2 separate regions of the Homo sapiens genome follow, and region 1 is linked to region 2. The links are contacts of gene promoters, found by promoter capture Hi-C in human tissues and cell types (Jung and others, 2019). All regions are on one chromosome and are shown on one strand. The core of a region is centred on a gene start or on the middle of the fragment in contact, and the rest is flanking DNA. Distances in the headings are between cores, read along the strand shown. Region 1 overlaps TRPC4AP (transient receptor potential cation channel subfamily C member 4 associated protein). Region 2 holds the start of GGT7 (gamma-glutamyltransferase 7).

Region 1 (6,671 bases), core at 2,379-4,878, 140 kb after region 2:
TTTCTATAGGTGGATGAAAATTACAATAGGATAAAACAGCAAATAAGGAAAAGCAGGCTGCTAGCTCATGCAGTGGGCAGCCCCCTCCCTGCCTGGAGTGAAATGAGATCCCCATCACAGAGATTACAAGGGGAAGTGGCTAGAGGGCCTCAGGCAGAATTTTTTTTTTTTTTTTTTTTTGAGACACAGTCTCACTCTGTTGCCCAGGCTGGAGTGCAGTGGCGTGATCTCAGCTCACTGCAACCTCTGCCTCCTGGGTTCAAGCAATTCTGGTGGCCGCTCCACAGACATTACAAAACACGAGGCAACACTCCACCCTGAGGTCTGAAGACCCAAACACAAGCATTAGTGCCCCATGAGCAATCGAAAGAGACCTTAAGAAAGTATTTTAAAAATGATTAAAAACAGAATATGCAGCAGAAAAAAGATATTAACATCATGGCTAAGCAGTTTCCGAATTGAGCCAGACAGAACATCTAGAAATGCAAAATATATTTGCTTGAAATTAAAAACTCAAATGATAAAGCAGAAGACAGGTCGCTGAGGGAAGTCCCCAGAGTGCAGTGAAGAGAAGAGGGCCCCATGGCACCAGGCCGATGGCTGGGTGGCACTTTTAGGTCCCAGAGCACTTTCCTTCTCATGCTGGTAGGCAGGGTGCCGACTAGCCGGGGGGCCAATAGGGGAAAGAGTATTATCCTTCTTTTGCAAGAAAACAGAGGCTCAGAGATTCAGTGATTCATTCAAGCTCTTCCAACAAGCCTTCCAATGTCCTGTTCAGAGCTCTCTCAAGGGGACTGTGAGAGACACAAGCTAAAGGAGAGTGCTTGGGCTCAAAAAACCAAAGCCACCTTTTTTTGTATGAGACAGTGTCTTTGCTCTGTCACCCAGGCCGGATGTGCAGTGGCTTGATCTTAGTTCACTGCAACCTCTACCTCCCGGGTTCAAGTGATTCTCCCACCTCAGCCTCCTGAGTAGCAGGGATTACAGGTGCCCCACCAACATGCCTGGCTAATTTTTGTATTTTTAGTAGAGACGGGGTTTCACCATGTTGGCCAGGCTGGTCTCGAACTCCTGACCTCAAGTGATCTGCCCGCCTTGGCCTTTCAAACTGCTGGGATTACGGGTGTGACCACCACGCCCGGGAGCACGGTTCTATAGGTGGATGAAAATTACAATAGGATAAAACAGCAAATAAGGAAAAGCAGGCTGCTAGCTCATGCAGTGGGCAGCCCCTGCCTGGAGTGAAATGAGATCCCTATCACAGAGATTACAAGGGGAAGTTGGCTAGAGGGCCTCAGGCAGGAACTTTTTTTTTTTTTTTTTTTGAGACACAGTCTCACTTTGTTACGCAGGCTGGAGTCCAGTGGCGTGATCTCAGCTCACTGCAACCTCTGCCTCCTGGGTTCAAGCAATTCTGGTGCCTCAGCCTCCCGAAGAGTTGGGATTACAGGCACCCAACACCATACCTGGCCAATTTTTGTATTTTTAGTGAGAGACGCAAGTGTCTCTCACACTAGTGAGACAGGGTTTCACCATGTTGGCCAGGCTGGTCTGTAACTCTTGACCTCAAGTGATCTGCCCGCTCGGCCTCCCAAAGTGCTGGGATTACAGGCCTGAGTCACTGTGCCCAGCCTAGGAAGATCTTAAAAGGGATTTCTGCATAGGTTGGGGTGGGGAGTGGAGTTCACTCAGATCCTACTCCAAGGTAGCTTCCAATTAGGGGACTATAAGATATGATTTTAGTTTCTGCTCTACTCCCAAAGGAAAAAAGGTCAAAGGGTCAGCAGCAGGTCTTGAAACAACTACTCCAAGCCAGTGAGGCCCCATCTGTCCCCGGGGGTCTCCTGCTTACCGGGCTACAGTCACAGTTCTGGTTGTGACCATGGAGGACAAGGGCAGATGCTGAATGCTTCCTCCAAATCAGTTTGTCAAACAAATTATTAAGTCCAGGGATCAGCTTGAACTCTGCAATCATTCTGTGAACCTGAATGGGATAGGAAGGAAAAAGTATTAAGACAAATGTGCTTGAAAAATCTAGCAAAACCTCGTGCTCAGTACACACGATAATGATATTCAGGACAAGTATCAGTACTGTCAGTAAGGAGGGCCAGGGTCTGAAGAAAACATCCGTGTATCCCCTATGCCCAGCACACACAAACCCACTTTCTAACTTTGCTCATTAATGCTCACAATAATCCTACAAGGCATAATGTCCGGTAGTTCCTATCACAGAAGCATGAGTTTGGGATTCAGAGAGTCCTGCATATGATTCAAGAGTCCTTTGGGATGCAAGAGTCCTGGGTTTGACTCTTAGCTTTACCATGTGCAAACTTTGTAACCTTAAACAAATTCCTTAAGATTTGTCTCCTCGTATTAACATCAAAATGTTCCTCATGCTTTGCACTAGGATAAATTTCAGCTGAAAGTAAGATACAATTATTAAAAAACTCTAAGATCTAGAAAAATCTCTGCAAAGAAAAAAAAATGATCTAAGAGTTGGAAAAGCCTTTCTGAAGGATTATAATAAACCTAGAAGCTCAAAAAGAAGCTTGTTGACATCAACCACCTAAACCTTTAAAAATTCTGTATGGCAAAACTCAAGCAAAGTCACAAGCCAAATATGACAAACAGAGAACATACATTGGCAATTCATGCCACAGGCAAAGAAATTCCTCTATAAGGAGTCCTACAAATGTCTCTGATTTTTCACTTTTTCAGACTGGGAAAGATGACAAAGCTTTATAAGACCGTGTTGGTGACTTGGGCATTGGGTACATTCACACGCTGTTGGTGGGAGGGCACACTGGTATGACCTGCACAGGGAAGAGTGTTTGGCAGTAGCTCTAAAATTGCAAATCCATAATCCCTTTAAACCAGCAATTCCACTTTAGGAATTTACACTCAGACAGATCCATATAAACACTAAATGATATATATTTACAACACTACTCACTATAGCATTATTTGTAATACCCCAAAATAAATTATGGTATGCCACTCAATGGGATACAAGGCACCAGTAAAAAAGAATCAAGGTATTTTATATGTCGTGAACTGAACAATTGCCGAGAGATAATACTGGGAAAGCAAGTGTGCTCATGCTGTATTACTGATTGTGTAAAAAAAGAGGAATACAATTCGCCTTTGTAAGCATAAAAATGTCTCTAGAAGGATACACTAATAACTGGTAAAATTAGCTGCTTCATGGAACCATTAGAATAGAATGTCAAGGATCAGAGGGGAGAGAGGCTTCACTTATACTAATTTATATCTTTTAAAACAGAACTGCAGGAATGATTTCCCTGTTAAAATTTGTTTATATAACATAAGGCTATTACTAGCCCTTCTCGGGGCTGTTGTAAGGATCGAGTCAGAAAGCAGATGTAAAGCTCTGCACACAGCACCAGTGCTCGCTTATTGCTATTTTACAAGGGGGAGAAGTTCAGCAAGACCAGCCTGGGTAAGGTCAGTGATTGCAACGGCACCTAACTCAGGTGTTCAGATCTTAAGTCTGCCCCTTTCTAGCCCACTACAGGTATGCATTTATCTTGGGAGACCAGAAGCTGACAAAGACATCCCTGGCAGCCTCCATTTCCATGGACCTCTTCCTTCAACATATTAGGTTGTGTAAAAGTAATTGCGATTTTTGCCACTGAAAGTAATAGAGGTGACTATTCTCTTCCTACTAGAAATCACAGCCTCTGGCCAGTGTTAAGACTCATAAGCAGCCCAGAATCTGTTAGACTGAGGCTGATGTAAAATGACACCTGTTCTGCCACTCAGGCCTTTACTAAAACCCAGCCTGGATCTACCTTGCCCTGCTTAACTGGGGGTGGGGAGGTACGGCTGACATCTATGGTGTTCACCAAGCCATGTGCCTTCCTGTCTCACTCCAAAGGGCCCTAAGCCAGGCCCAGGTCACACAGCTATAAAATGTTCCAACAATGGCCCAAAAAAATTCATCCAGTGCAATTGCCTCACTGCACAGACTAGAAACCCAAGCTTAAGAGATTAGGGGTGAGTCACACAGCTGGGAAGAGAGGGGCCTTCTAAGGCAGACTTGGACCTGACCCTGGGTCTCCTAAGTTCAGGCCAGTGCTTAGGTTTGAGGTTTCTACTACATCATTTCCCTTTTCTCTTAACAATACCAGCTTCTCGGCCGGGCATGGTGGCTCACGCCTGTTAATCCCAGCACTTTGGGAGGCCAAGGCGGGCGGATCACTTGAGGCCAGGAGTTTCAGACCATCCTGGCCAACATGATGAAACCCTGTCTCTACTAAAAATACAAAAATTAGCTGGGTGTGGTGGTGTGTGCCTATAACCCCAGCTACTTGGAGGGCTGAGGCAAGAGGATCGCTTGAGCTGGGGAGGCAGAGGTTGCAGTGAGCCGAGGTCATGTCACTGCACCACTCCAGCCTGGGTGGCAGAGCAAGACTGTCTCAAAAAAAGAAAAAAAAAAAAAAAAAAAAAAGAAAGAAAGAAAATAGCAGCTTCTTCATGTGTAAAATTTGTAAAACAAATTTTACTTGTAGAATGCATTATTCCTACTCTCAGGTCCAGCCCCGTAGCCTGCTCTATAGCAGGATGGTAGGCAGGTGGGCGAGATGAAGTGCCACTCTACCAGAGGAGGCAGCGGGTACAGGCTCAGGCATTTATCTCTGCAGTCAGACAGCCCTGGGTTCACAAGATAGCTCTGTGACCCTGGGCAACATTCTTTGAACCCAAGTCCCTTGATAGAAAAGGCGATGGGGGACGATGGAGCTGTTGAAAAGGCTCAGTGAGGTACTGTAGAAGCTACTCAGGGGGCACTAAAAGAAACGACTGCTATATGGATGGTTTTCATTAGCACCAGAGGGATGAAACTTGACAGCACATGGGGAGCCTTTCCAGTCCTGAGATTTCAATTTGGCCAAGATTGGTCTGAGAACTTGGCCCAACTGCTCATTAACGAGGAGGCCTCTTTAAGGAGGAAGCCTTCTGTGAGGCCTGGCCAAGGAAACCCTTCCCCTTGCTACCCAGTGTAGGCAGGATCTGGGAATCCAGATCCTCACGGTGCCCGGCACACAGCAGAAACCCAGGAAATGCTGACTGTGCAAATGAGAACACGCTAGTGAAACAGTGGTTTTGGGGGGCCAGGATTTCAAGGTCATTAGTGGTCCCTTCCCAAGGAACCAGCACTGTAATCATACAGTTTAACTCAAGACCGCAACAACTCATAGCAACCTGGCAACAAGAAGGCTCAGGGAACAGAGAACTGCTGTGAGAGGGCAGAAAGAGGAGACAGGGCAGCAGAGTTTAAATCCTGGCTCTATCCAGGCCTGTCCCCTGAGCGCACAGCCCAGTTTATGCCCTGGCTTTCTCAAGAATCGAGTGTGGGGACACAGAGTCACCACCTGTTGTGTAACTTACTAAATACCTGAAAATTCAAACAACTGTGAAAGTGCCTCGAAAAAGTAATAGCACTCAATGCACAGAAGCTGTCCCTACAATTATTTCACATATAAGCAACTGCGAAAGTGCCTCAAAAAAGTAATAGCACTCAATGCATAAAAGCTGTCCCTAAAACTATTATTTTTTATTAAAAACATGTTCCGTATTGAAGGAAGGGACACCAATGCTGTGGCTATCACCGTGGGATCTCATCCAGTGTCCTGGTTTTAAATACAACCATATGCTGAGGACTCCCAAAGTGATACCTCCAGCCTTGCCATCTCCCCAACACCAGGTGTAGGTAATCAATCCAAGTGTCAATTCTAACACACACCTCAAATCTACCTTGTACAAAACACAACTCCCCATCTTCCTCCCTAAGCCTGCTCCTCCACCCCTTACCTGCTAGTCTTAACCACCTCAATACCTGGCAAATCCATTCTCCTACTTCCTTGGGCGAAAAACCTTGGGAGTCACCCTTAACTCCTCTCCTCACTCTTAAGTTCACATCCAAACCATCAGCAAATCCTATCTTTCAAAACATATCCAGAATGCAACCACCTCCCACCAGTCCCACCATCAATGTGCTGGTCCTAGCTGCTATCATCTCTTGGCCCTATTATGAGGGCCCCTAATGGTCGCCCTATTCCCTTCCTTGCTGTTTCCAGTCTTTCCAAAAGCAGTCAGAGGAATGACTTCTCACTTCACTCAGAGTAAAAACCAAAGTCTTTAAAATGGCCTGTGACAGCTTGACATGACCTGGTCCCTGTGAGCCCTCAGCCCTCCTCTCCTGGCTGTTTGCTCCAGGCTGTCCCGCGCTGCCTCACTGTTCCAGCAACTATGCACACTCCTCCCCAGGGCACTGCCCCCTCCCACCTGGTACACTCTTTCATTCTCTTCTGGACGTTTTCATCCTCACTTGTAAAATGGGGGTAACTGCACCTCTGTTGCCCAGACTTGTGACAGTCCAGTGTCTGACTCAGAAAGATGTGGAAGGACTGCTGAGCCTCCAGCCTCTCCTGCCCCCATGCTTGGTTTCCTCCCTAGAAGGGCGCGGTCTGCAGGAAAAGGCTACTTCTCAATAGTCTTGAGGAGGGCCGCACTGTTCCAAGCCCTTTTTCCTCCACTGTAGGTTATGGGCCCCTCCTCCTCCGTCTTGGAACTACTTCAAGGCTCAGGGAACCTTGCACATCTGGAGCTCCCTGTACTTGCCCAGTTTTCCTAAGCAGACACAGCTCTGG
Region 2 (6,564 bases), core at 4,002-6,501:
ACTCGAAAGGCTGAGGTAAGAGCATCACTTCAGCCTGGTAGTTCGAGGCTGCAGTGAGCCACTGCCCACCAGCCTGGGCGACAGGGTGAAACCCTATCTCAAAAAATTTAAAGTAAAATATAAAATAAAATAAAATGAATAAGTGGCAGGACCAAGAGTCTGTGTAACTAGAAAGCCTCCTTCCCATTGCTCCACATGGCATCAAGAGCCATTTCTACCCTCAGAAACCAACCTTACAAGCTAATTTTTGTTGCTATTTCTTGGTACTTATTGCTTTGTTTTTGAGAGATAATCTTCCTGCCAGGCTGGAATGCAGTGGCGCAATCTCGGCTCACTGCAACCTCCGCCTTTGGGTTCAAGCATTTCTCATGCCTCAGCCTCCCAAGAAGCTGGAATTATAGGCATGCACCACCATGCCCAGCTAATTTTTGTATTTTTAGTAGAGATGGGGCTTCACCATGTTGGCCATGAGGCTGGTCTCAAACTCCTGGCCTCAAGCAATCCGCCCGCCTTGGCCTCCCAAAGTGTTGGCATTACAGGCGTGAGCCACTGTGCCCGGCCCTAGGTATGGTTTAATTTGTTTTCTCCAGTCAGATATAAGGATCCAGGAGGTAAAGGTGACATGTCCCTATCATAGCTATTCAAGACTCTCTACTCCACCAGTCCATCATAAAGTTATTGATTTATACAATAAAAATATTTACTGAGTACCTACTATGTGCACTGTGGAACAGCTAGGGCAATAACAGTGTTGATTTTACTGATAGGGAAGAGCAACAGCAGGATACTGGAAAAAGATTAATTTGCAACCAGAAGGAATAAGTCTTTTGGGAGAAAGATGACAAGTTCAATTTTGGTTATTATAAATTTGTGGGACACCATAAGAAGCTGTCTGGAGGCAGTTGGCCTAGTAGATATCTAATTTTTACCTTCAGGGCTCATCCCTGGTATCTGCTTGGATACCACTTCTCATTCAATTTTCTTTTAAGGAACATTCTCTCTCCTCTCTCAGCCAACTCCCTCATCCCTGACCAAAGTATATAACTCAGACTTGGCCAGTCAGAACAGGTACCTCTGTGCAGTAACAGGCAATGTGAACAAAGCCAGGCCAATAAGACCCAAACTTTGTTATTTTGCTGGAACTACTGGGAAAGAGAAAGGCTCCTCTTTCTATTACACTTAAGTTGCTAAGTTGGTAGGATGTAAGCCTGTAGCTGCTGGGGGCATCTTGCCCCTAATAAAATGGGAGGCCTTCTGCCAATGAAGCCCACCAAAAGAAGGCAGAGCAAAAGATGGAGAAAAGTCCATTCCTTTTTAGGTACCTTAATCCAGCTATGCCTGAAACCCCATATCCCTGGACTTTTCAGTTATGCTACCCAGTAAAATTCTCTTTTTGGATGTAGCTCAGTTAAACTGGGTTTATAACAAAATAATCCTGAACAAAATTGATTATACAAGTCCAGAGTTTAGGAGAGTGATCTTGGCTAGAGGCTAGGGTCATCCCTGGCTTGTTGTTTATTCCCTTAAGGGGAGAATCACTAAAATAAATAAATAAATAAATATATATATATATAAAATTTTGAAACAGTGTCTCACTCTGTTGCCCAGGCTGGAGTACAGTGGTATAATCTCAGCTCACTGCAGCCTCAACCTTCAGGGCTCAAGCCATCTGCCCACCTCAGCCTCCCGAGTAGCTGGGACTACAGACAGGCATGCACCACCACACCTGGCTAATTTTTGTATTTTTTCTAGAGACAGGGTTTCACCATGTTGCCCCGGCTGGTTCTGAATTCCTGAGCTCAAGCAATCTGCCCACCTTAGCCTCCCAAAATGCTGGGATTACAGGTGTATGCCACTATGCCCGGCAGAATCACCAAAGATGTCTGAACCAGGGAGTGACATGACCAGAAGCGATGGATGGATTGGGGTGGGGACTGGGCAAGAGGGAGGAGGCAGGAGGAGTAGCTAGAAGCCTATAAATAATATTGATAAGAGAGGTTGGTGGCTTAGTCTACAGTGGTGATGACAGGGATGATGAGTAGGAATTTGGAAGATACTTAGGAGGGGTGCAGAGAGCACTTGATCACCATTTGGAAATGAGAAGAAAAGGAGGAGTCCAGCATGCCATTCATTATTGGGAGACTGGGTGACTGGCAGTGTCATTAATGGAGAATGGCAGTGGAGGAAGAGCAGGTGCATGGGGAAGGGATATGATGAGTTCAAAATAGAACATGCTATAGATGAGGCACTTGCAGGACATCTGGAGACACAGGCCTGGGAGAGAAAGGAACACAAGGGCTTGGAGCTCAGAAGAAAGAAAGTATTTCCCAACCTTGGAATGATCACTGTCTAGCTCTCTTTCCCACAGAGCCTGATGTGGGGTGCCTGGCACTTGGGTTTAGGGAATGGCAGGCTAGAGGCTAGCTGGGCACAACCAAGGTCCTGGCTAAGAGGATGGTGCTGTGCCACTAGATGGTACCACCAGGTTGAGAACACAGGAGGCCATGTCAGCCTGTAGTCTGGTCCAGGTGAACCGAGGAAGCCTTGGGGCTTGGAAGTAGGATTGGGAGATATGGCATTCAAATGATTACACTGAAATGATGGCAACACACAAACCTGACACATAAATTTGGCATAAGGTATAAACTCCCAGAAGCTCAGATGACTAGGATCTCTGCTGGATTTCCATACAGGGGTGAGGGCAGAGCCTGTATTGAACTTCCCAAAATACTCCCTGAGGTTTTGGAACTTGCTCTCTCCTACCATTCTTTCATCCTCTCTCCTACCATTCTTTCATCCTGAGATCTTCTCTCTCATGCATTTATTCATTCAACAATTATTGAGTGCCCAATAAATAAATAGAGATGAGGGTTTTTTTTGTTGTTGTTGTTTGTTTGTTTTTTTGAGACAGAGTCTCACTCTGTTGCCCAGGCTGGAGTGCAATGGCGCGATCTTCGCTCACTGCAACCTCTGCCTCAGCCTCCTGAGTAGCTGGGGTTACAGACACCTGCCACCAGGCCTGGCTAATTTTTTTTTTTTGTATTTTTAGTAGAGATGGGGTTTTGTCATGTTGGCCAGGCTGTTTTTGAACTCCTGACCTCAGGTGATCCACCCGCCTCAGCATCCCAAAGTGCTGGGATTACAGGTGTGAGCCACCACACCGGCCAGTGTATTTTGTTTTGTTTTTTGTTTTTTGTTTCTTTTTGAGACTGAGTCTCACTCTGTCACCCAGGCTGGAGTGCAGTGGAGTGATCTCGGCTCACTGTAACCTCTGCCTCCCCAGTTCGAGTGATTCTCCTGCCTCAGCCTCCCGAGTAGCTAGGATTACAGGCACCCACCACCATGCCCAGCTAATTTTTGTATTTTTAGTAGAGATGGGGTTTCACCATGTTGGCCAGGCAGGTCTTGAACTCCTGACCTCAAGTGATCCACCCACCTCAGGCATGAGCCACCGCGCCCGGCCTATGGATAAGGTCTTGATGCTGGAGAAAGGAGAGTGAACAAAACAATCATGATCCCTGCCCTCATGGGGCTTACAGACAGGGAGTAATCAGATAATTGCACAAATAAATAATCATAGATTTTGGTAAATGCTAAGACATTTACAGAGGGCCAGAAGAAAACATGTCAGGCAGTTCCAATCTCTAGGTCAAGAGAGACAGGCATTCTCTGTTGAGCTGGAAGAGGAAACTAAGGCCCAGGACAGGGTAGGTGTGCCTGTTGTCGCTTGGTGAGTCAGGGCTGTATTAGGACCAGAAGTCTCACTCCTGACTACTGAATAAAAGGCCTAGCTTCAGGCTGATATCCATCATGACACATCTTCCCACTCCTCTCCCTGCTACCTCCTGATTCCACTCCCTTTGGAAAATAAGTTTTGATCCGCAGCCCTGACATTTGACGCCCATAAACCTCTAAACTCCATCTTCATTATCTCCTCACCCCCACCCCATACAGAGTGCAGTCCAGTCAGGTTGGCAAGGGCTGCTGGTCAGGGCCAGATGACCAGAAAGTGTAGAGGAGGAGAGAATTTGGGGCTTTCAGGCTGGGAGCAGCTAGGGAAGGGCCAAGCCGGAAAAGCAGCATCTGCCAGGCTGGTAAGAGACAAGGCTCAAGTGCAGGCACTGCGAGGAAGCGAGAGTGAGGTAGAAGGATGCTCTAATGCCAGGAAGTGACGTGCAGGGACAGAGGGATGGGGGATGAAGGATGAAGAATGGAGGGGAGGATGAAGCTGGGCCACATGGCTAGGAGGAAGAGCAGCAGGGAAGGAATGCACAGAGAGCTCTTTGCCCCCAGGTCTCTTCCAATCCCTGTCTCCTCCTTCTCTTACCCCCACTTCTCACAATTCCAGCAGAGGGCTGAGGGGAACACAGTAAAATTCTGGAGACTGCTTCCTAGGGAGCAGAGTACCTTACTAATACCCCGGCCAGATCCATGGCTCAGGGAGGGGTGGGGTAATCCACAGGAGAGTGAAGGCGTTCTAGTCCCCAAGGACTTTTGAGAGGTCATGCAGTCCATGCCTCCGTCTCCCAACACCCAACAGAGGGGAATCATATTCTCTTTACCCCTCCCTAGACATGAAGAGATTCTCCGCTTCTCCCAGACCCTCTGCTTCTCACAATCCCTGGCTGTGGGGAACTTCTCTTAAGGCACAGATTGGATCCCTCTTGCTGCAGTCTCTGACTTGGTTTCTCCTATCCTGTCCTCTGTGGCTAGAGAAAGCCCTCTTCTGGGTGATCACAGCGGTTCCTTAGGATCTCCCCTTCAACATTCCTTCATCGTTAGTTGGTTCTTCCCAGAAGGTAAGCCCAATCCCTTCTACTGCAGTCCCTAGCATCCTCTCCGTTGTCGCATCCTACGCCTCCAAGGCAGAAATGCACCCCCTTCCTCACCAAATAATTAACAGAGACAAGGGAGAAGAAGGGAGAGATCCAAGAAGATGGGGATGAATTAAGGAGATGGAGCTGGAGGTGGATGCTTGACACAGAAGAAGGAAGACCGGGGACTTCCCAAGGCAGGGCAGGGACGGGGTCAGCGGGCCTCACCGGTGTCGGGGTCTCCCAGAAAGGCGTCCTCGTCCTTGCGGCCCCTCAGCGGGGCCGCGGGCGCCGGCTCGTCCTCGGGCAGCCGCGGGAAGCTGGTGATGCTCATGTAGTCCACTGGCGAGTAGGCGCCCAGGGCGCTCTCCTGGCTGGCCTCGTTCTCCGCCGCCATCCTCGCCCGCGCCCCCCAGCAGCGCAGCGCCTGCCGGAAGTGGCTGCGGCGGGGGAGTGGGAGGGCGGAGGGCGGGGCCTGATCTTCGCGACAGCCGGGAGGGGGCGCCTCTCCCAGCCCTCGGCCGTGTCCCGGTCTGACTCGCCCCCGTCTGCTCAGCGCTATCAGCCTGCAGCTGGCACACAGGTGCGTGTAGATGGACAGCCAGGAAGGCAGCGCAGGGTCGAGGGGAGAGCGCGGGGCAAGCGAGACTTCAGTGGCTCTGCACTTTACGCAGCTCAGGGACCAAACCCCTTCCTCCTTCCAGCCTGAATACAGCTAGTGTCCTCCTCAAATCCCAGGCTTCCTTTTCGGGCCCCAGACCCTTTCACTGACCGCAAATCCCTCTCGACCCCAGATCCTGTCTCTGACCCCAAACTCCTCGGACCCCAGACCCCTCCTTGAATTCCGAGATCCTCCTCCTCCGATTTTAGACTCCTCCTCCGACCTTAGACCTCTTTTTCGACTTCAGACTCTGTCTTCACCCCCAAACCCTTTTGAAAACCCCAGCCCATGCTTCATCTCCAGGCCTCTTTGACTGCAGACGCCTCTTTGGACAACAGATCCCTCCTCTGACCTCAGATCCCTTCCCGCACCCCGACACTTCTGACTCCTCTTTCAACCGCATTCTCAAACTTTAGTGTGTGTTAGGATCTTTGAAAGCGGATCCCCAGATTCCACTCCAGAGATCATGATTCAGTAGGCTGGGATGAGGTCCTTGGAACCTGAATATTTACCATCATTTTAAGAGTTTTTGATGTGGTTCTGGAAAGGACACTTTGAGAAAGAAGGAGTGGTGGTAGTGATGGTAGGGCAGGAGTGGGGCAAGGTGGGGAATAGGTCTCCATATTCTGGATGTCTGGGTTCTATTCTGCCACCGCTCAAACACTGTGTAATCTTGGGCAAGACAATTAGTCTCTCTATCAGTTTCCCCATCTGTGAAATGGAAAGAATAATAGTACCCATTTTAGAGGGTTGTCATGAGGATTAAGTAACAGAATGGAAAGCGATTAGTATAGGGCTTGGCACCTACTCAATAAATGGCATCATCATCATCATCATCATTGCCTTAATCTGGTAGATTCATTCCCTCCAAACTCATCCATCCTCTCTCCACTCCAAAATTCCAACCACACTACAGCTTGTACTACTTCTCCATATCCAAGGATGAGGGAGGTTCCTTCTTTTACGAGGTCTCTGTTCCAAACTTTCATTGTGAAGTCCACAGGAAGAGAGGGGGGCTGGTGAAGCCTCTATACACACATCCTTTCTCTTCCCAACCCCAGACCAGTCTCAGGGATGGCCTGAAGTGCT

The links. The method cuts DNA at HindIII sites, captures the fragments that hold promoters and counts their contacts. A contact is called where the count stands out against the background at its distance.
Region 1: a fragment that was not itself captured here is called in contact with the fragment with the promoter of GGT7 in region 2 in 2 of the 25 tissues and cell types used here (aorta and spleen).

Annotation. Positions count from the first base shown.
Region 1 is chr20:35,014,156-35,020,826 of GRCh38, forward strand. TRPC4AP (transient receptor potential cation channel subfamily C member 4 associated protein) reads right to left here. Exons shown (of 19, transcript NM_015638.3): 10 at 1,853-1,984. Among named protein-coding and RNA genes, the nearest start is that of MIR499B, 27 kb to the left of the region's middle. RefSeq lists a silencer at 3,938-4,138. The HindIII fragment of the contact is 6,059 bases long and covers 600-6,658 here.
Region 2 is chr20:34,867,605-34,874,168 of GRCh38, forward strand. GGT7 (gamma-glutamyltransferase 7) reads right to left here and starts at 5,252. Exons shown (of 15, transcript NM_178026.3): 1 at 5,043-5,252. The coding sequence starts at 5,211. RefSeq lists a silencer at 5,134-5,423. The HindIII fragment of the contact is 17,400 bases long and covers 1-6,564 here.